Regions from separate parts of the Homo sapiens genome. Here regions 1, 2, 3, 4, 5 and 7 are each linked to region 6. Evidence: promoter capture Hi-C in 16 types of primary human blood cells and fetal thymus (Javierre and others, 2016). All regions are on one chromosome and are shown on one strand. Each heading gives the region's core, a stretch centred on a gene start or on the middle of the fragment in contact. The rest is flanking DNA. Distances are from core to core; before and after follow the strand shown.

Evidence for each region. Contacts are between HindIII fragments. The CHiCAGO score rates a contact against its expected background, and 5 or more counts as called.
Region 1: a fragment that was not itself captured here is called in contact with the fragment with the promoter of STIM2 in region 6 in 1 of 17 cell types (naive CD4 T cells); the score reaches 5.1 in naive CD4 T cells.
Region 2: a fragment that was not itself captured here is called in contact with the fragment with the promoter of STIM2 in region 6 in 1 of 17 cell types (monocytes); the score reaches 5.6 in monocytes.
Region 3: a contact is called between a fragment that was not itself captured here and the fragment with the promoter of STIM2 in region 6, in 1 of 17 cell types (neutrophils). The highest score is 6.2, in neutrophils.
Region 4: a fragment that was not itself captured here is called in contact with the fragment with the promoter of STIM2 in region 6 in 4 of 17 cell types (fetal thymus, naive CD4 T cells, naive CD8 T cells and 1 more); the score reaches 18.3 in fetal thymus.
Region 5: a contact is called between a fragment that was not itself captured here and the fragment with the promoter of STIM2 in region 6, in 1 of 17 cell types (total B cells). The highest score is 5.4, in total B cells.
Region 7: a fragment that was not itself captured here is called in contact with the fragment with the promoter of STIM2 in region 6 in 1 of 17 cell types (M0 macrophages); the score reaches 5.5 in M0 macrophages.

The regions. Positions count from the first base shown.
Region 1 is chr4:25,919,768-25,922,625 of GRCh38, reverse strand. The region is part of intron 1 of SMIM20 (small integral membrane protein 20); the gene reads right to left. Among named protein-coding and RNA genes, the nearest start is that of SMIM20, 7.0 kb to the right of the region's middle. The HindIII fragment of the contact is 5,874 bases long and covers 1-2,858 here.
Region 2 is chr4:26,068,668-26,071,503 of GRCh38, reverse strand. LINC02357 (long intergenic non-protein coding RNA 2357) reads right to left here and starts at 750. Exons shown (of 3, transcript XR_925506.3): 1 at 1-750. The HindIII fragment of the contact is 9,846 bases long and covers 1-2,836 here.
Region 3 is chr4:26,272,887-26,275,775 of GRCh38, reverse strand. LOC124900690 (a long non-coding RNA gene) reads left to right here and starts at 351. Exons shown (of 4, transcript XR_007058094.1): 1 at 351-616. It also overlaps a transcript of RBPJ not described here. The HindIII fragment of the contact is 4,295 bases long and covers 1-2,889 here.
Region 4 is chr4:26,320,912-26,323,978 of GRCh38, reverse strand. RBPJ (recombination signal binding protein for immunoglobulin kappa J region) reads right to left here and starts at 2,965. Exons shown (of 11, transcript NM_015874.6): 1 at 2,931-2,965. The coding sequence starts at 2,950. RefSeq lists an enhancer at 1,588-2,509 and silencers at 2,622-2,721, 2,792-2,921. The HindIII fragment of the contact is 623 bases long and covers 1,199-1,821 here.
Region 5 is chr4:25,899,912-25,902,881 of GRCh38, reverse strand. The region is part of intron 1 of LOC102723733 (a long non-coding RNA gene); the gene reads right to left. LOC105374538 (a long non-coding RNA gene) reads left to right here. Exons shown (of 3, transcript XR_925502.3): 3 at 1,647-2,072. Among named protein-coding and RNA genes, the nearest start is that of SMIM20, 13 kb to the left of the region's middle. The HindIII fragment of the contact is 813 bases long and covers 1,166-1,978 here.
Region 6 is chr4:26,859,277-26,862,428 of GRCh38, reverse strand. STIM2 (stromal interaction molecule 2) reads right to left here and starts at 1,588. Exons shown (of 12, transcript NM_020860.4): 1 at 1,060-1,588. The coding sequence starts at 1,210. STIM2-AS1 (STIM2 antisense RNA 1) reads left to right here and starts at 1,830. Exons shown (of 2, transcript NR_134674.1): 1 at 1,830-1,919; 2 at 2,401-2,805. RefSeq lists silencers at 892-1,461, 1,472-1,841 and an enhancer at 1,932-2,031. The HindIII fragment of the contact is 3,345 bases long and covers 1-3,152 here.
Region 7 is chr4:26,042,326-26,045,435 of GRCh38, reverse strand. No RefSeq gene overlaps it. Among named protein-coding and RNA genes, the nearest start is that of LINC02357, 27 kb to the left of the region's middle. The HindIII fragment of the contact is 2,942 bases long and covers 181-3,110 here.

The DNA of each region.
Region 1 (2,858 bases), core at 100-2,599, 940 kb after region 6:
GAGAGAAGGCCTAACAAGAAAGGCTAACAGGAGTGGCTGAAAGGCAGGAGCAAAAGAGCAAACCCAGGAGGACCTTCCACGGTGGAGAGGCCCAGGGAAGACAGTGCTCCAAGGAAGGAGAGGATGGCCTAGAGTTGGTGCCTCTTACTCATAAATGACCTGACTTCCTGTGTCACAAAGAGAATAGACGCCATCACCTGGAAGTGCCCACAACTTGCCAACATCAAACCTAGATATGGCAGCATCCACACCATCCTTCCTCCTGAGCTGGTGGAAGAGGTGCCTTGCCTTTGGTCCAAGGCTCTTTCCTCTACTTGAGCTCAGGATCTCATGTCACCTCCCACTCTACGGACTGTCTTCTCTCTCCAGCAGCTTTCTCTGTCTAAGACTTTCTTGGCCCTCCATCTCTTCCAGCCAAAACTAAAAGAAAACTCTTCCCAGACCCTGTGACCTGCTGGAAACTTTGCCATTCTCCTCTCCATACAGCTAAACATCTATAAATAGTCAACTTAATACACTATTAATAGTCAACTTAATACACTTCAATCCACTGCAACCTGCCTTCTGCCTACTTCCAAACCACTGAAAGCATGTTTAACAATATAACCAATCACTTCTAACTTATTTCTGTTAAATATAATTCATATTTTCACTTATCTCTTTTACTGTCTCTAAGCAGCCTAACCCTGCTGACCACACTCCCTTTTCATGAAGAGCTGTCTTTATGGGGCTTGTGACTGCAGCCTCTCCTGGTTTAAAACCTGTCTAGCCACTCCTCCTCAGTCTCCTTAGAGGGCCTTTCTCTTCCTCTGACCCCCTATGCTTCAGCCCTTCTGACACTGGTGTTCCCCAGCACACTGCCCCGGGCCAGCTTGCCCCTTACAATCTCTGAATGCTGCCTGGGAACCCTTACCTACTGCAGTGACCTGATTCCCAGCCACGTGCTGATGATGCCCCATCTCCAGCTGCAGCTCACATCCGGCGTCTCAGCCCCAGATCGGTATATTCCATTGTCTATGGGAAATCTCAAAGAGCACATCAGCTACCTCAGCCTCAAAAGCTACCCAAATGCCCAAAAGCAAACTAACTTGTCTTTTCACCCCTAAAACCAATTCCTTCTTGTGTTTTCTAGCTAATGACCAGCATCTCCATCTCCTCAGCTGCTGGAGCCAGAACACTGGGTGCCATTCTCCTTCTTTGCCCCGTGGCTAATCAGCCACAGACCCCTGTAGAGTTTACTTCTTTTCTTTTTTTTAAATGAGACAGGGTCGCGCCATGTTGCTCAGGCTGGTTTGAACTCCTGGACTCCAGCGATCCTCCTGCGTCAGCTTCCCAAAGTGCTGGGATTACAGGTTTGAGCCACCATGCCCACCAGTTTGCTTCTTAAATATGGCTCCCAAATGCAGTCACTTATCTCCACTCCCATAGCCACCACTCTGGTCTCCCTGAGGTCACAGGAAACACAGCCTTCCCGTACCTGGCCTTCCTGTCCCCAGATTTGACTTTTCCACCTTCTAGTTAACATACAATCAATCAGAGTGATGCTTGTAAAGAGTGAATATGATCACTGCTCTTACTAACATACAGTCCTGTGTCACTCATCTGTGGGAGTACATTCTGAGAAATGCGTCCTTAGGTGATTTCATTGTTGTGCAACCATCATAGAGTGTACTTGCACAAACCTAGACAGTGTAGCCTACTACACACCCAGGCTATGTGATATAGCCTATTGTTCCTAGGCTACAAACCTGTACAGCCTGGTACTGTACTGAATACTGCAGGCAACTGTAACACATGGTAAAGATTTGTGTGTCTAAACATAGCTAAACTTGAAAAGGTACAGTAAAAACACTGTATAAAAGATTTTCCAAATGGTGTACCCAAATAGGATATTTACCTTGAATGAATCCTGCAGGAGTGGAAGTTGCTCTGGGTGAGTGAGTGGTGAGTGAATGTGAAGGCCTAAGACATTACTGTACACTACTACAGACTCTATAAACACTGCACACTTAGGCTACACTACATTTATTGTTTAAAATTTCTTTCTTCAGTAATAAATGAACCTCAGCTAGCTTTTTTACTTTATAAACTTTTAAATTTTTAAAACTTTTTGACTCTTATAGTAACATTTAGCTTAAAACACAAACATCTACAGCTGTACAAAAATATTTTCTCTTTATATATCTTCATTCTATAGACATCTTTCTATTTTAAAATTATTATTATTTTTTCCTTTTTAAACTTTTGTGTGAGAAACTAAGATACAACATATATATTAGCCTAGGCCCACACAGGGTCAGGATCATCAGGACATCACTAGGCGACAGAAATTTTTCAGCACCATGATAATCTTATGGGACCACTGTCATACATGGTCTATCGCGGGCCAAAATATGATACAGCACATGACTATACTTCAATAACCCTCCACTGGCTGGACTTCCAAGACACCAAAGGGTTACTGGAGCACTGTAATTAAGCAAGTGAGATGATTAAATTTGGATGGCGTGACAAACTTTTCAAAAACCATGGCAGAAGACCTGCAGTTCTATACATTTTCCAATAGACAAAAACAGAGGTTCCCAGTTACAAATTCTTACCAAAGAAGTAGTAACAGATGTATGTCAGAAGGGAGAAAACTGAAGCTAGAAAGGAGTGAAATGTAAGCAGCGTCGGTGAGTAAAGAACGCGGGTGAAGATAAACAGTCAGTGACCATATACAATAGTGATGGTGTTAACTGATTTGCTGAGTCACAGGCACCAGGCAGGACAAATATATTATGTCAGGTGCATGGGACAAAGGTTAAGGCATTATAAGGACCTTGTATTGTTCAAGGGTAAAGACACTGACTAACTCT
Region 2 (2,836 bases), core at 288-2,787, 790 kb after region 6:
CCCACTCCTTAGCATCCATTAGTGTTCTTACTTGAATCAATTATCATTAGGACGGTTGCCAAATGGTAGAACCCAGACTCTTGACCTTTCTATTTCAATCAGCAAATAATGTGCATGGCCTTCACATCTTCTGCATAGGCCTCCATGCCTTCGCTCACGGCTTCCTCTCTCTTGAAACATCCTTCTACCCCTTAATATTTGCCAACTTTTTTTTTCAAGACCCTCTGAGGATTCATCTCCAAGGATCGACTTCCTGTTTCACCTCAACCTACAGTGACCATTCTCTTCACCTCCTTTGTACTCCTGCCTTTAACATTTCTCAGTTTCCAAGCATTTCTTGAATGTTGGCTTTTCCTTACCATGTGACTAGGGCTATGTTATCTTTGACAACATATTTTATAAACTCTCTGCAGTTAAGGATGAGTTTTTTAAAATTTCCAAAATTTTGAGGGAGGATATGTGGTCCTAGTGTGTGTGAGCCACCACACAAATTCAACAGCACCCCAAATGCTCACCACTGCCCTCTTCATCAAGACAGGATCATTGATCAGGTGCTTGGACACTGTGGCAAAGTAAAATCACCTTAAACATTTCTAAACCCTCCATTTCTGTATTTAACATGGGCCAATAACATTTCAGTAACCCATATTAGGACAACTCCTTCCTCTTCCTACATCCATCCCACTCTTAGACCCGAGAGAGAGAGAGAAAATGATGGTAATCAGATGAAAAATAAAATCGTTTTCCCCCGATTGCCTCCATTCCATTTGATTTTGACAAGATTCCTCTCTGTGACATAATAACCACCAAAGAAGCCTGAGGCTTCATGGATAAGGAAGTAATAAACAGCATCTTCTAATTGAGAAGGAGTTTGAAGGACATAAAGGGAACATTAAGATTAAGGGAAATAACTCCTGACAGCATAATATTCTGAAGGAATAGGCAGATCTGCATTTGCCCTTTGAATAATTGAGTCTACAGCAATCAAATGGATAAACCAACTTCCACTCCATCTCCCTTGGCAAAAACAGAGCTCTTCATGTGCAATTCCAATATAATAAAAGATTGCCATTTTTGAGGCTGGGTGTGGTGGCTCACACTTGTAATCCCAGCATTTTGGCTAAGGCGGGCGGATCACCTGAGGTCGGGAGTTCGAGACCAGCCTGACCAACATGGAGGAATCCCAGTCTCTACTAAAATACAAAATTAGCCGGGCGTGGTAGTGCATGCCTGTAATCCCAGCTACTCGGAAGGCTGAGGCAGGAGAATTGCTTGAACCCAGGAGGCGGAAGTTGTGGTGAGCCGAGATCATGCCATTGCACTCTAGCCTGGGCAACAAGAGCGAAACTCTGTCTCAAAAAAAAAAAAAAAAAAAAAGATTGTCATTTTTAAAAAGTTTGTCAACTCTCTATTACATGCCGCTCAGGCACCGTGGTCAGTACTGGGAATGAAGAGGTAAATAAAACACAGTTCTTGCCCTCATGGAGCTGATATCCCACTGGGGGAGGCAGGGGTAAGCCCACAGGGGAGAAAAATAAGAAACCTTGAGAACATAGGAGCAAAGTTGAGTACAGGTGGGAGGTGGGGAAGGAAGATATGGTCTCCCAGCAAAGATGCCAGCTAGGCAGAGGTGGGCAGGAGCTCCCCACACTCAAAGGACTGCCTAAGCCCTGGTGTGACTGGGCACAGAAAGGCAGAAAGGGCCTGGATGAGGCTGGACGAGCCAGCAGAAGCCAGACGTGGGCCCTGGGGGCTAAAATCTGAGTCCTAGCATTGATTGAGAAAGCGATTGAGAATGCTTGACAAGGGAAGTGATGGAATGAGATTGCATTTTTAAATGGATCTCTCTATCATAGAATGTGCTGGCGGGGTCAGAGTGGGCTTACTTAGCAGGACTAGTTAGGGGGCTCTTGACTGGGTCTGGGCCGGAGAGGACACTGGCTTGGATGAGACAGTGGAATCTCTTGCTCTTTTCATCTTTGGGGGACCTGCCAACAACCAAACTAATTAAATTCTTGTAGGGTTGAGCGGGCAGCATTCCCATTTATTCAGATGGAAACACTGTTAGAGGGGGCCCTAATCAAGGTATTTCTGCCCCCTACGGGTGGTGAAGAGAAACAGCTTCTTGGAGAGGCAGAGAGTACAAGCCACATGGAGCCCAGGTATGTGGGCTGCTGAAAGATTGTTACGGGACTGAATACTTCCCCTGTCAATGCACAGGAGGCCATTCCTAGCTCCTTCTGCCCCACCACTGATGTTGTTTTCATCCAGCATATCTTAAAAAGGACAGGCCTATAATAGGAAATTAAAGCTGGGTTTTGGCTTAGAACCTATGAACAACCCAGTTCCCTATCCAGCAAAAGTCCCACTGATTGGGAACGGAGGGGAGGGCTGGGTGAATTAGACTGAATTTTCAATTACAGCATGTTTTAAAAAAAAAAAAAAACACAGCATGATGACTTTCAAGGACAAAGGTGAACCAATTAGGAGTAAATGGTTTTCCTTTCTCTAATAGGCTAAGAGGCAGCCACGGTGTTATTACCCACAGGTGTGCTCCCATCGGCCGTGAGGCATATTGCTAATGACAAGAATAAGAAAATATTCATAATAAGGCAGTTATCACCTACTGAGTATTTACCATTAGCAGGCACATTGCCAAGCATTTAGTTTGCATAATCAGATCCAATCCTAACGGACCCTCCAGCATAGGAGTTCTATTATCATACCCATTCTGCAGATGAGAATGCTAAGACTCAAAGAGGGTAAGTAACTCACCCAGCGCCACACAGCCTATAAGTGAGGGGGTCAGAATGGGAATCTGAGATTGTCTGACTTC
Region 3 (2,889 bases), core at 282-2,781, 590 kb after region 6:
GCCTGTAGTCCCAGCTACTCGCAAGGCTGAGGCAGGAAAATCGCTTGAACCCAAGAGGCGGAGGTTGCAGTGAGCCGAGATCGCGCTACTGCACTCCAGCCTGGCAACAGTACGAGACTCCGTCTCAAAAAACAAAACAAAACAAAACAAAACAAAAAACCTATGATTTGGAGAGAAGTTGACAGTTGTGTTATGTCAAGATACCTCTTTCCTGGATGGTTTTTCTCCGGCGACTGACTTGACATGTTGCTTAGCCACACCCGAGTCACATAGTCCCCCTGGGTTTTAATTTCTTTTTCCGGTGTTAGTAATACTTGTTCCCTTCCTGCCCCACTGGCCTGTTGGGAGGCATAAGTAGACTCATAGCATGCTAGGTCCTCCCTTTTCATTATCTTCCTAGGAAAACAGTTACCCATAGGAGCCCAGAACCTTGCCTAGAGTCACCCTGCCAGCAAGTGGCAGAGCTGCGATTTGAATCTGGGGCTTATGCATCTGATTCTGCTGAGGATGTCAAATTACCAGGCTTTGGTCTAAGCAGAAGTCAGGGGACAGCAGTGAAAAGAGCACGGTTCCACACCTTGATGCCGTCTCTCACTTTCCCTCTGTGTGACCTTGGGTAAGTTATGCAAATGCTCTGTGCCTCAGTTGCTTCATTTATGAAATAGGGACGATGACATCTCACTAGTCTATTACAAATATTAGTTGACAATGTGGCCATCTCCCTATCCCATGAATGCTATCTTCCTTTATGGCTTCTAATCCCTTCCTCTAGCCCTGGTACTTTAGAAACTTTTTTCCTTTCCTTTCTTTTTTCTTTTCTTTTCTTTTTTTGTTTTTTTGAGACGGTGTCTCGCTCTGTCACCCAGGCTAGGATCATGCAATGGCGTGATCTCAGCTCACTGCAACCTCCGCCTCCTGGGTTCAAGCAATTCTCCTGCTTTAGCCTTCCGAATAGCTGGGATCACAAATGTGCACCACCACCCCTGGCTAATTTTTGTGTTTTCGATAGACGAGGTTTTGCCATGTTGAGCAGGCTGGTCTTGAACTCCTGGTCTCATGTGATCCACCAGCCTCAGCCTCCCGAAGAGCTGGGATTACAGGTGTGAGCCACTGTGCCCAGCCTTCTTCTTCTTTTTTTTTGAGAGACAGGGTCTCGCTCGCTCTATCACCCAGGCTGGAATGCGGTGGCATGACCACAGCTCACTGCCACCTCAAACTTCTGGGCTCAAGGGATCCTCCCATTCAGCCTCCTGAGTAGCTGAGAACATAGGCACATGCCACTGTGCCAGGCTAATTTTTAAAAAAATTTATGTAGAGACAGGGTTTTGCCGTGTTGCCCATGCTGGTCTTGAACTCCTGGGATCACGCAGTCCTCCTGCCTCAGCCTCTTGGACTGCTGTGATTACAAGGGTGAGCCACCGTGTCTGGCCAGAAACATTTTTCTTAATCAAAAATCATACCTTCTCTTATCTTCCTTAGGGTTTCAGAAAGTCTCAAATCCATTCATTATTTAACAAATACTTATCGAGCGCCTACTATGTATGTGGCACTGTTGTGGGTGCTCGGGATGCAGGGTGTGGGTGTGAGCATGGGGCAGATGGCAGAAGATAGGCAGAAAATCAAATGAAGCAGTAAAATATAACACATGTACAAAGTATTTTAGGAGGTGAGAAGTGTTATGGAGAACAATAAAGCAGAGAAGTAGAAAAGCATATATCTGGGGTTGAGGCCACACCTGTGGTTGGGAAAGACTTCTCTGACAAGGTGACATCTGAGCAAAGACCCATAGGCAGCAGGGGAATGGAAGAAGAACAAACTTTTTTTCCTCTACACCAGAGAAGACACAGACACCTCCAGGAGAAGTAAAGCCGGGCCTAATCGGATTCCCAGGAAGATGCAAATGGCGATGACTGTGTCTTGGCTGCGTTCAGCTTCAAAGAAGAAGAGGGAAGAACCGTTGGCATACCAAGCACTGGAAGGGTGGCGGCAAGGGGCACCGGGAATGGCTGTGGTTACCAGTGATGCAAACAGACCTCCCACTTCCCCACTTCTTCCTGAAAGTGGAGGAGGGGAGGGAGGCAGTTGAGTGAAAAGAGCTCCCAGGCCCCGCTGCTAGGTTCTTCTGCAGAAAGATTAGTACCCCTAGGTGCAAGTGGGATACAGAGTGGTTCTTCCCTGAGCCATTGGAATCTGTGCCCTCCTCTTAGATTCCAGAATGGCCTCGGACATAGATACTGCTCTCTGCTGCCAGTTTCCTTCCAGGCAGCTAGAGCTGGAAAGATCTTCATCCTAGCTGCCTGCCAAGGCCGGGAGGCCCGCTCCACGCTCCCTCGGAGGCATCTCGCCCTCTGGGAGGTCGCCAGGCAGACAGCTTTGGAAAACTGGGAGCTTGGAAAAAAGTCATTTGAATTTTATAAAGTGGTAACTACTGTGGGGCTTTATGTAATAAAACCTAAATGCCATTTTCCTCCTAAAGCTCTCGGGTGAGGTAACAGTTCTCTTTAATGTCAGCTCAGGAAGTTTTACCCAAGAAAAAGGAGGTGGAGGGGTGGTGTTTGCCAAATCAGGAAATGTGCCTTAACTGACTAGGAACTTAAAAAAGAGGCTGAGGCAATGAGAGGAAGGGAAGTGGGAGACAGCAAAAGGTAGTCCTGCAAATGAGTAAACTTGGGACACACAGGCCAATTTTTATTTCAAGTCAATTTTGTTGGTTGAAACTTCCTTTTTATGGTCTGTTGTTTTGAAAAACTTGGAGTGAAAGAAAATCTCAAACTTAATACAGTCTTCATGAAAAAAAAGCACCTAAGGTATTAACAGGGATTCCAGCGTCTGTAATGTAAACATTCACCTTAGGCATGGAAACTCTTGCTTGAGAGTTGCAGAGTTCCC
Region 4 (3,067 bases), core at 261-2,760, 540 kb after region 6:
AGAAAATACTGCCCCTAGTTGAGATAACATGAAATTTAGTATTAGGAGGAAGCAAAATGCAAAATAATGCTTTAAAGCCAAGTCCTGGGTCTTATTTCTAAAAATGAACAGAAGAATGAGATGTATAATAACTTTCAAACGAAACAATTTTTTCCTAATGCCTTACCCATCAAGGGTGCCAAAGGTTATTTAATGAATTACATCTGGCAAGAATGGCCTGTCAACCAAACCAATTTTGATCTTACCCACTTAAAAAAAACATTGATAGAAATCTGTTGGTATAGGACAACAGATAACTTTTTAACAAACCTAACTGCTTAAAATCTAATGCCTACAAGTGTGTATTAGTACAGATTTGAAAATATTGCAAGTCTCCTGTTTTCTGAAAATATACTCACAGATCCATCAGCAATATGCATGGATAATAAAATTTAAAGCTTTAACAGTTAATACTCAGAATGAAAGTTCTCCAGCCACAACGCATCCAGATTTCGAAATATGCTGCTGTTATAATTTAATTAAAAGCAGTTTTATTTCACCAATCATGTAAGTAAAAGTATTACACGATTTAGAAAGAAAAACGCAACTCAAATGGTAAAAGCGCTTTTATCATGTCTGTGTAATCATTCTTACAGGTACAAGTCAGAGCAAAATACCTTCCATTACTACACAGTATTTACACTTTGCTCCCAGTCAGAGAACCAGTGAGCTCAAGATTTTACCTTCAAAACAATGATTATGTACAAGAACAAGTAAGGGAGACATAAGATTATTGGTAAAACCCACTCAAGCGACCCAGACTGCAGATTTTCACAAAAAAACTTATGTATCAATCATGAAAACATGGTTTTCCATTAATTAAAACTCAAACTACTAATTCTAATCACAGCCAGAAAAAAAAGTATTTTCCAATGCTCCAATACTCGTTAGAGTAGATCTCGTATGTCCCCTATCAACAACACTTCACTATTGTAGAACTTCAGTTTGTAAATGAAATGACACTCCAAATGATTTTATGGGTAACATACCTTCTAAAAGTAGAGATCAACCAGTAGAAAAAAAACAAACTCTTGAAGAATACCTTCAGCATAGTAATCCTGGTAAATATAATAACTCTTATTCCTAGCACCCAGAATAACTCAAGTCATTAGAATACATCACACCACACCCCCCACCCCCATTCACACAACCCCAAGCTTTTAGCATTACCAAAACAATAAGAACTCGAAACACTTCAAGGGTTCTTTAACACTAGGAAGTGTCTTTAAAATAATCTCACTACAGGCTATTACGTGTGTGTGTGTATATATATATATAATATACATATTATACGTATACTTTTTAACTGCATTTGATTAATATCTTCCACAAAGATCTTAGAAGCAGTATTCATCGACCAGAAACTGCACTCTTCGGTGCTGTCCTCATTTCAACCCCAATGATGGGACAGAAGGGTTGTCACGCATCTACAGGGCAGCAAAAAGCACATAACTGTAAACTATCTAATGATTAAGAAAAAATAAAACATTTATATAAAATTCCCAAGCGGAATGCCTCTCCTTTTCCTTATGAGGCAGAAGTTACTGATAAATTCTAAATCCAGATTTCTAGAAAATGCTGAAATTCTCCGCCCCAACACTCACAAGTTTTTAACATGGAAATTCACTCAACTCCTACTCACACGCCAAATGAATATCCATTGTGGCTATCTGAAACTATTCTCAAACACTAACAGAAAAACACATATATACATCTTGAGCCTCCTTCTAACCGTCCTACGATACCCTCCAATCATCCTCAGGCAGCCTAGATTGCAAAGCTTCGACAGACAGCTGCCCTTGGCCTACGCCGTCAGGAACCAGGAGGGGGGCGGGGGCCGGGGGGCGCAAGAACCACCAAGAGACCAGATCTTTTTCCAAGGCTACTGTTTCCAAGCAAAACAACCCACGGCACTAAAAAGACGGCGATGAAAATTGGAGACGCTTTAATCCCGAGAGAAAGGGGTGGCGATAGGGGGGCGGGAGGGTACAAGAAATCCCGAGAAAAAGAGGTGCGGAGGAGAAAACTAAGTATCCCATGCATCTTTCAGACCCACAAAACAACAAACCGTAGAGTCTTGTGTGCACTTAGAAGCAGCAGATGGAGTCCCCGGGGCTGAGACAGTTCAGCAGACGTACACCGTGGGTTGTGGATAAATCAACCGATGACGGGAGAGGAAGGGGGTGCCGAGAGAATAAGCCCGTGGATGGGGGAGACAAAGCCTCGGGGGGTGATCCAGGACCATACAGAAAGGTGAGAGGGGACCCACAGGAGAAAGACAATGGAAGAACAATTAAGGCAGAAATCTGGTGCCCGGGCTGTGGCAGGTCACTGGGCTAACGACAAGAGTGTGGCACAACAAAGGGGCACGGGAGGAAGGACAGCGGAGGGGAGGAGATGGAGAGGGGATGCGGGACGCCACGGGTCGGACAAAGCGCCCAAGGCGGCGAAACAAAGGGCCGGGGGTAGAGAGTCGCAGCGGGTAGCGGTGAAAGACAAAGCGCCCGGGGCCGGGGGCACTAGCGGGGCGAAGCGGCGACAACGGCCGCGAGGAACAAAGATGCACGGGGCCCCCAGGCAGAGCCCGCTGGAGGCGCGCGGGAGGCACGGCGCCCGAGGGCCCCGCGCGCCCTGCCGCACTCACGCCCGCACCCGCCGGCCTCGCCGCCGCCGCCGCCGCCCGCCCTCACGCGCTGGAGCCTGAGCCACGGCAGCGCAGAGCGGCAGCGCACGGCCACACGCCGCCGCCGCCGCGCTCGGCGCACGCGACGCCGCCCCCGCGGGCCCCCGAACGCCAAGCGCGCCGCGGCCCCCGAACCCGCTGCCCGCCGTGAGCTGCCAGACGCCCGCAACTTTCCCGGTTCCCGGCGCTCCGATTCCCTCAGACTTACCCTGTCACAACAGGCGCCATCTTCCACAAACTCTCGCCAAAACTCCAACCCTCGCGAGATTCCCCCCGACGCCTTCCCTGGTCCCTCTCCCCCGCCCCTTCCCTTTTTCCTCACTCCTCGATTCCACCCAGCCCCCG
Region 5 (2,970 bases), core at 323-2,822, 960 kb after region 6:
AGCATGGCGGCGCATGCCTGTGCCACCACAACTACTCTGGAAGCTGAGGTGGGAGGGTGGGAGGATCGCTTGAACTTGGGAGATCAAGGTTGCTGTGTGAGCTATGATTCCTCTACTGCACTCCAGCCTGGGTGACAGAACAAGACCTTGTCACACACACACACACACACACACACACACACACACACACGAAAAAAATAGTAATGAAGCCTTTTCGATCGCTTAGAATAACATCCAGACATTTTACTATGTCCTAGAAGGTTCTAGGGGACTTGTCCCTGCTGACCTCTTCTACCTCACACAAGTATTATGCTTGTTCTTGAGCACATCCGGTCTGATCTAGCCTATGGGACTTTGTACTTACAGTTTCCTCTGCCTGAAATGCTCTGTGCTCTTGGCCTGGCTTTACTTGTTGCTATGGCTTGAATATTTGTCCTCTCCAAAACTCATGTTGAAACCTAATCCCCAATGTTGCAGTATTGAGAGGTGGGGCTTTTCAGAGGTGATTGGATCATGCGTGGATTAATCTATTCATGAGTTAATGGGTTATCACGGGAGTGGGACTAGTGGCCTTGCAAGAAAAGGAAGACAGCTGAGCTAGCACACACGGCAACCTTGCCACGCGATACCCTGAGCTGCCTTGAAACTGCAGAGACCCTAGGTGCAGCCCCTTGACCTTGGAATTCTCAGCCTTCATAACCATAAGAAGTATTTTTCTTTACAAATTTCCCAGTTTCAGGTATTCAGTTATAAGCAAGAGAAGACAAAGACACTTGTCATTTAAGTATCTCTTCAAGTGGTACTACTACCTCATAGGGCTGTACCTGACCACATGGTCTAAAGGGGTCCTCCCCCTTTTCACGCTGTATGCATCTTGCTTTTTATTCCAACACCCTCAAACTACCCATTTACATGTTAATTGTTGTCCCTCATTCTAGAAGGTAAGTGCAGGAACTTTGTCAACCTCCCTGCGGTGTGTCCACCACCTTCCAGAGGACTTGACACAGAGTAGGTGCTCAATAAATATTTGTTGAATGACTGGAGATACTTCGTCTATGCATTTAAGAGACAGTATTGCACAGGGAAGAAACTTGGGAACTTAACTTCTCTTGGGAAGGAAGGGGAAGCCCTGCTTCTCATTAATTATTTAATTACTTTCAAAGCTTGGGATTTCAGGAAGATTAAAAATCTTTCTCATTCCACTTGTCACAGCTAAATGCTCTCAGGCCTAATCACAGCACCTGTGATTCTTAAACTGATCACTGATGTCTGGTTTTCCTGTAGGATTAGCAGAGGAAGAAGGCATCTGCAGACTGTTACCATTGGCATCTTTTGAGATTTTTAATTAACGGAGTATTTTTTTTTCTTTCTCATTCATGGTCAGGGTTTTGATTAACTTGTAAGTGGAAATTTTGTCATGTAAAGGAGGTTAAAGGAGGGTGCTTGGGGCAGATGAGAGATGTCAGGGCTGCCCTTCGTTGCTGATGAAGAATTGGCGGTGCACCAGCTGGCGCCTCCATGTCTGCATGGGGCCACCCCCGACGTGGTAGGGCTGGGTATGCACCACAATCACGATTATGGGCTAGAGTGGATAATTGGGCTTGCGGAGACCTCTCTGCTTACCAGACATTTCTTTCTGTCTGCAGTGCCTTTGTGAACATGGGGGTCCCCAAGTTTTCAGCGGGTGAAGCCAGCAGGCAACAGCTCACACTGGCATTTTGTCAGTCGGGCACCTTTATCTTGGCATTTGGGCTTCCATCCAGGCTGCCTCAGCTCTTTTGAATGAACATGGCCTGCAAATAGTTCATCCACAGAGCTGGCTTGGCAGGCGAAGGCTTCTCAGCCCAAGCAGGGGGCTCGATCTGCCTGCTCTCCTTTCTGTGGCCTCGGATCCAGCCCTCACTTCTTACCTCCACCAGATTTGGAGTTTTCAGAGCTAACTGAGGCTTCGGGAAAAGTTCTGTGTTTGGACAAAGCTTTGCAATAAGGCAGATCTGGGTTTGAATCATCAATTTATTTAATCCTGAAAACCTCAATTTTATCTGTAAAATAAAGATGATAATCATAACCTAGCTCACAGATTTTTTTTGAGATTAAATAGCACACGGCACGCAAGGGGTTTAAACAGGAAATGTTGATTGTTTTTGTTTGGGTCAGGTTATTTGGGTTCAAATCTACTTGCGGCACCTTAACAAGATTTCATCTCTCTGAGACTCAGTTTCCTCATCTATAAATTGAGGATAATGCCTCTTGTGGTTGTGTGACAATGAAATGAATGTGCCAGATAGATAAATTTTCAATTGCTGTGCAAAGGGCTTACTAATTTCATCAATGAGTCATTCACATTTACCCCTGGCCATGAAATTAAGTTGAATTTCTCACAGAATCCTACACATGAATATGTCATCTGTCTTACTCATAAAAAAGAAAATGTAGAAATATAAAATTGGGAGGGCTATATGCAAACACTGTTGGAAAGTTTTTTTTAAAAAAAGGAAGAAGAAACAAATAGCATTAAAATGATTACTGCATGAATGACTGGGCTATTGTCCTCAGGGAAAATATTTCCCAGTTTGCTTAGTGTAGCAAAAAGAGGGAAAAAGAGGTTTAATAGTTATTTCAAAGCTATCTCCCCCAGGGAAATTAAACCTGAGTTGTGGGGTATTTTTCATAAAATCAGAGTATAAAACTAACAAGCGAAAAAAGAAAAAACTACTGTGACATGAACCTAAGTGGATTTAAACAGGGTTCTTCTCAATGGAAGGGCCCCTTGCACATTGGCATTCCTGCCCCTAAACTCGCTTTCACTCCCACTTTACCCCACTTGTACATAGTGGGACCTAGGTATATCCATAAAGAGTTACCTCACTTGGCCATGTTCCGGTCTTCCTTGCAGGGACATCCCAGTGTTATCAGCTGACATAATGATAGGCCCTCTCAGTCCACGTGACTCCCGCCAGCCTTCCTCAT
Region 6 (3,152 bases), core at 339-2,838:
TAATCACGGGTCATCTTCTGCCACTTTAAACTTTTTAGTCTTACAATTATTGTAGGAAATCTACAGATCTACTTTAAAAATAAGTGAAATACTAAAAAAAAAAAAAAAAACCATTATTTTAGCTCCATTACTTTTCCCAAAGAAATCATTTCAGGGTCCTTATATAATAACTTTTACTTAAACCACAACTGATCAGTTGTACATAACACCGGAAGGCTTTAAAAAGGATACAATTCTGCACTTAACCTTACAAAACACGTTTCCAAGTTTTCAATTATGAGATCGTTCTATATATTAAAAAAAAGGTGCTAGTGCAGTCTATCAGAACTGTGCTGCCAGCTGCAAGCCCCGAGTATGCTGCACTTTGCAAATTTTAGGTATAATTTCTGGTTACCTGCTGAGGTTTCTACACCCTTTGTCACCCAGTGATGCTCCCACCACCAAACACTTTCCATCACCACTTAAAACGGCCTCCTTCCACCCCGCAAAAAATGCACTGTAAACTTAGGCATTTCTGCATACTAACACGGAACCACTAATATCACTAGGTATTATGGCTCTCAAAGAATCCCCTTTAGCAGGCTCCCCTGGGACGCTGTGCTCAAGCGGAGCTTTGAACCGGTGAGACTCGCTGCCAGCTGCCTTTGCAAAAGCAGCACCAGAGGTAGACTCAATACCGCAATGCTGCTGCTGACTTTTTCTAGCAGCCTCAAAAAAAAAAAAAAAAAAAAAATCAGCCCAGTCCCCTGCAGACCCTGCTGGCACTTCTGCAGCACGAAAGAGAAACCACCGCATTGCTCAGCTTGGAAGATCGGAGAGCCCGACTGAAGGGAGGGGAATCAGTGCCGTCGAGAGGCTCGGCGAGGGCGGGGTGTCGGGGTGAAAAGGAAAGACGTCCGGAGTGCAGGGGACCGCGACGAAGCAGCAGGCAGGGCTCCGCATCGCGCCCTGGCCGGAGCCGCGGAATAGCGGACGTCCGGCGGAGATGCTGACCTCTGCACGGGTTGGGGGTCCCATCGCTGCCGGCCGAGCCCCGCCCGCCGCCCCCCGGCCCCTCACCTGTCATGAGCGCCGGGCTATCGCCGGCCGCCGCGGCGGGAGAGGAGGCGGCAGTTGCGGCAGAGCCAGTCGCCCGCCGCCCGCGGAGGTGCCGGGGCACAAGCTCGCATCCGTCCGCCGCTCCGGCTACCAGCAGCCCGAGCACCAGCAACGCAGCCCAGCGCCGCCGCCGCAGCAGCCAGCCCCACGCTGGGCCAGGAGTCGAGGCGGGATGAAGGCGCCGAGGAGAAGCCGGGTGAAAGCGCAGCGGCGCCCCGGCCGCCTGCAGCTCGCCGGCTCCGCGAGGCGCCACCACCGCCGCCGGCGACTCCTCCGGCCGCCCCCGCCGCCTCAGACACGGGCTCCCGCCGGGCGCCAGCCTGGTCCCATCGGCACCGGCGGCCTCCGGAGCTCTGATCCCGGCTGCGTTCATTGGTTCCGGTTATTTAAAAAAAAAAAAAAAAAAGGTGGGGGGTAGAAAGGTACGGCGTCTTCAGGCGGTGCACGACACCCGCGCTGCTGCTGCGGCGAGACCGGGATCCGCTGCTCTGGCGCCGCCAAACACCAACCCCAGCTCCCGCGCCGCCGCCGCCGCGGCGCATCCCCCCGCCCCCTCCGGCCCGCGCTGGTCGTAGTACCACGCTCCGCCGGGACGCCTCCCTCCCCTCGCACATTCGCTCGCATACCAATCCCCCGCCTCCCTCAGGCTCTCCACGGCGCAGGCGCGGCGCTGCTGTACTGCGCGTGCGCGGCATCCCAGCCCCGCCCCGGAGGCGTTCCTAGACGGACGGTAGTACCGTGGGGCGGCTGATAACGCTTTAGCGAGCCGCGAAGATAGGAGGCGGGGAAGAAGGGGGACGTGTACCTCTCCCTCATTCACGGTACCACCGCGAGGGGGAGTGGGGGGCTACAAGGGGACGGAGAGAAGAGTCCAGACGTCCCACATCCTGAGGGCGAGTTTCAGCCTCGTAGAGGGCAGCGAAAGTAATTGCATGGATCAGGAAAATCTTGCAATCGGAAAACAGCAGCGTCCCCGTAATTTCAATATAGGTGGGGCTTACAAGTGGCTGGCTGTTTAGACGCGGTTAGCATAGCTTAGCGTTTTATTTACTTGCCAAACATTTCACAAAGCGCGTGCTATGTGTGAGTGTACCAGGCATTGCTCTAACCGTTTTACACATTTACATGCTATAACTCCAAAATTATCGTTACCCCCTTTTACGAATGAAGAGACTAAGACCTAGAAATGTGAAGTAAGTTGTCCCCAATATCCCACAGCTAATTCATGGGAAATGAGCGAGATTTAGCAGCCACTGAAAAGGCCTATTTAAGAGAATTTACTTTAGCCTCTGACTCTCCTAGGTACATTTACCTGAACTCATCACCTTCCCACCCCCATCCCATCGACTCTGTGCTGTATCCTGAACCGGCTGACAGAACAATGATGTAGACTTGACTTGTTTTCGCCAACCTGGAATGAAGCAAAGCTCTTGTGCACCCAAGATCTGCTCTCTGTTGTAAATCCTGTTCAGACCTGGTCTAATTGGTTTGAATAAATAAAGAACCGGAATCTTTCTCATCCAAACTAGTTGCCAGCATATTTTTAAGGCCACCTCCCTTCAAATTTAAAAGGAAGTGTTGAATGTACTGTCACTATAAATTAAAAGCCCTGGAAATTCACACGCAAGGAGGCATTCTTTCTCCCAGGGGCACAAAATTGTTTAAAATTTGCAGATAGGGTTATTAAACACGAAGATCCTTTTGCTATTGGGTTTTGTTGGTTTCATTCTGCTTATTGGTTTGTTTGCTTGCTTTCTCAAGCCAAGAAGATACTCAAATTACATTCTCCTAAAGTATTTCTTAGGTAGCCTGGCCAAGATAACCACAAATATCGTTTATTGTGGAAGGGCAGATGCACACTTTAGAAAAGAATCAAGGATGTCTTTGAGGCTAAGTCAATCTATCAACAGTTATTTCTCAGCAGACTTCTTGTGGGCATAGTGTTCAGGTGGCAATTCTTTATAGGGCAACCGGGAGATTATATTTCCCCTGCTGAAAGGCACAGCGATGAAGTCACACCAGAGTGCTGAGTGCCCACCAGAGAAGATAATTCT
Region 7 (3,110 bases), core at 402-2,901, 820 kb after region 6:
ATGAGTTCAGTTATCCTAGGAGTCTACACTAAACTCCTCAACCCATTCTGGACTTAAATAGATCCAGATGGGAAATTGCACTTGAACTTTACTAGGACGTGACTGAACTTTTTTCAAAGTGTGCACGTGCACATGCCTGCATGCGTGTGCTTCCCTCATTGTCGGGGGGCAGCACAAGCTTCCTGCTCCCACCTCTCAAATGTGAGCAGATATCTGGATTCCTCCAGCATGGAGCACAAGAGGTGAGGTCAATGAACAAAAGGATAAACAAATGAAAGCCACACACTGTGATGTGCTGAACACATCATCATCCAAGGCAGCTGAGAGATGCTTTCTCCTTTGTGTGAGTTGGGATCATAGGCAAAAGGAAGGCCAAGGCCACACACTAGGATACTCAGGAAAGAAAGATGGAGCTGGCAGGGAAGGAGCAGAGCCAAGAAAATGGGAAAGAGGGGAGTGGATGGGGAGCCAAGACCTGTCTTTTAGGTTTCTCAATGGCTTTCTTATAACTATTAAAGTCTGTACCTTTAGCAACATGGTCCTTAGAAAGGCTGAGAAAATGCTTTTTAATTCTGAAGTTGAGAGCTCATTTCAACTCATGTTCACTCTGCTCCCCTGGTCCTCCACTTTGGCATGATTAGAAAGGTTTCAGTCTGCCTGGCTGAAGGTGTAAATGAAAGCTCAGCTGGCTCGAGCCTTCCCACCAGGGCTGTGTAGGTAGATGAGTAATAGGATTCAAAGAAGTTGCATTTCAGAGGGTCTAACCATGGTGATTCATCTCCTCAGTGACCTCCAGGGAAATAAGACCCTGTGGCAGCCAGAAAATACTTCGAAGGTCAGAAATCTGTGCTAGATCTTTATCCTGGAGCCAACAAACAATAAAAATCAGCATTAGTTGATAATATTCCTTGAGTCCCTAGAGAGGTTGGGACTGAAGAACCCAGAGGTAGTCCTTAAACTATTTCTTCTCACATATTTATGAAGTTCTGACAGTGGCCTAGGCATGATATCTGGAGGAGAAAGATTACAAGGTAAGCTCCCTTTTCACTAAAGTACAGTTTAGCAAGGGAGGAAGGCAATGGCACAAGTGATTGTGATTCAGTGAAATAAGGACCATAAGAGGGCATAGTATGTAAGGCTAGGAAGATGCAGAGGAAGTCAAGGCTACCTGTCTTTGATTAAATTAGAAAATGGACTTTTGAGAGATGAGGTGTTTTTTGTTTGTTTGTTTGTTTGTTTTTGTTTAATGAATAGGAGTTCTTCAGAAAGAGGGGTGGAAGATGCCTCCAGGCTGACTCTCTAGCCAGAAGGAACATGCAATAAAGGTTCCAGGGGAAAGAAAGCAGAGATTTGAACAGGGTTTGTACACCAATGTTCATAGCAGGATTATTCATAAGGGTGAAAAGATGGAAACAACCCAACTTTTCATCGATGGCTGACTGGATAAACAAAATATGGGCCATGCCTACAACGGAATATTATTCAGCCATAAAAGTGAATGAAATCTGACACATGTTAAATATGGATGAATCTCAAAGACCTTATGTGAAATAAGCCAGACACAAAAAAACAAATAGTGTATGCTTCCACTTATATGGATTATCTGGAGTAGTAAAATTCATAGAGACAGAAAGTAGAATGGTTTCCAGGGGCTTGAGAGAAGGGAGAATGCTTTTGTTTGATGGGCATAAGATTTCAGTTGGGGAAGATGAAAAAGTTCCGGAGATGGATGGTGGGAATGGTTGCACAACAGTGTGAATGTACTTAATATCACTGAGCTGTCTACGTAAAAATGGTTAAAATGATATATTTTATGAAATGTATATTTTATTACAATTTTTTAAAATTAACAAGAAAAAAGATGTGGGGAGAGGAACAATTGTGGTATATTGAGGAAAAGGTGAATTCATAGGCCTGGCTAAGACTTCAAGTGTGGGTGAGAGACTGACAAGGTAGATTTAGTCCAGGTAATAAAATATTTTGTACTTGGGGAGGTGGCGCTTTGCCTTGGAGGGGGGTAATAAAGAGTTATTGGAGAAGTGGGGAAGGACCAGGATTTTTAGGAAAGACTTATCCTGCAGAGTAGAAAGGCCGGAGGTGGAGGCCAGCTTCAGTGCTGTGAGATGTAATGGGAGCTGGAACTGCCGTGGAGATGAAGAGGACATAGAAGCATCAAGAAATGAAGTCAAAAGCCAGGCACGGTGGCTCACGCCTGTAATCCCAACACTTTGGGAGGCTGAGGCAGGAGGATCTCTTTAGTCCAGGAGTTCGAGACCAGCCTGGGAAACTTGGCAAAACCCTGTCTCGACAAAAAAGACAAAACCTAGTCAGGTGTGGTGGTGTGCACCTGTGGTCCCAGCTACTCAGGAGGCTGAGGTGGGAGGATCACTTGAGCTGGAGAGGTGGAGGCTGCAGTGAGTCCAGATTACACCACTGCACTCCAGCTTGGGTGACAAAGGGAGACCCTATCTCAAAAAAACAAAAAACAAAAAAAGAAACAAAAACAAAAACCAAGAGATGAAGTCAAATAAACAGGACTGTGTGCCTATCGACTTGAGCCAGATTAGTTGAGGGTGAATGGGAAATTGAGGATGGGTGATTTGGTTTGGGTGGCTAAATGGACACCAGCCACAAATAAGGATCTTCAGGAAGAAGAATGTGTTTTGTGGGAAAGAAAACAATATCAATTTGAGACCTATTTAATAATATGTACATGTATGTAGTGCCACATGATTATATAATGCCTCTTATTTGTATCAATTTATTTTACTTGTTCTTGTCTCTAAGTTAGATTTTTGAGCACATAGATCTGGTGGATTTGTTCATTTGTTCATTCAATATGCATTTATTAGCACATTCTCTTTGCTTGCAACACTTATGCAATCCTCAACTCCACTCCAGCCCTGTACCAAGAGTAAGCAGTGATCTGGGCACGGAATTCAGGTCTTTTTCACTAGACAATGGCTTCCCCCACCTAAAGACAGAAAACAAAGTGTGTATATAACATGGCTCTCTCTATGCTTGAATCTTATTTAAATTCTCACAACAACCCAATGTGATCAGTACTACTGTTTTTAGGGGAGGAATGAGAGGGAAAGATTGCAAAAAGA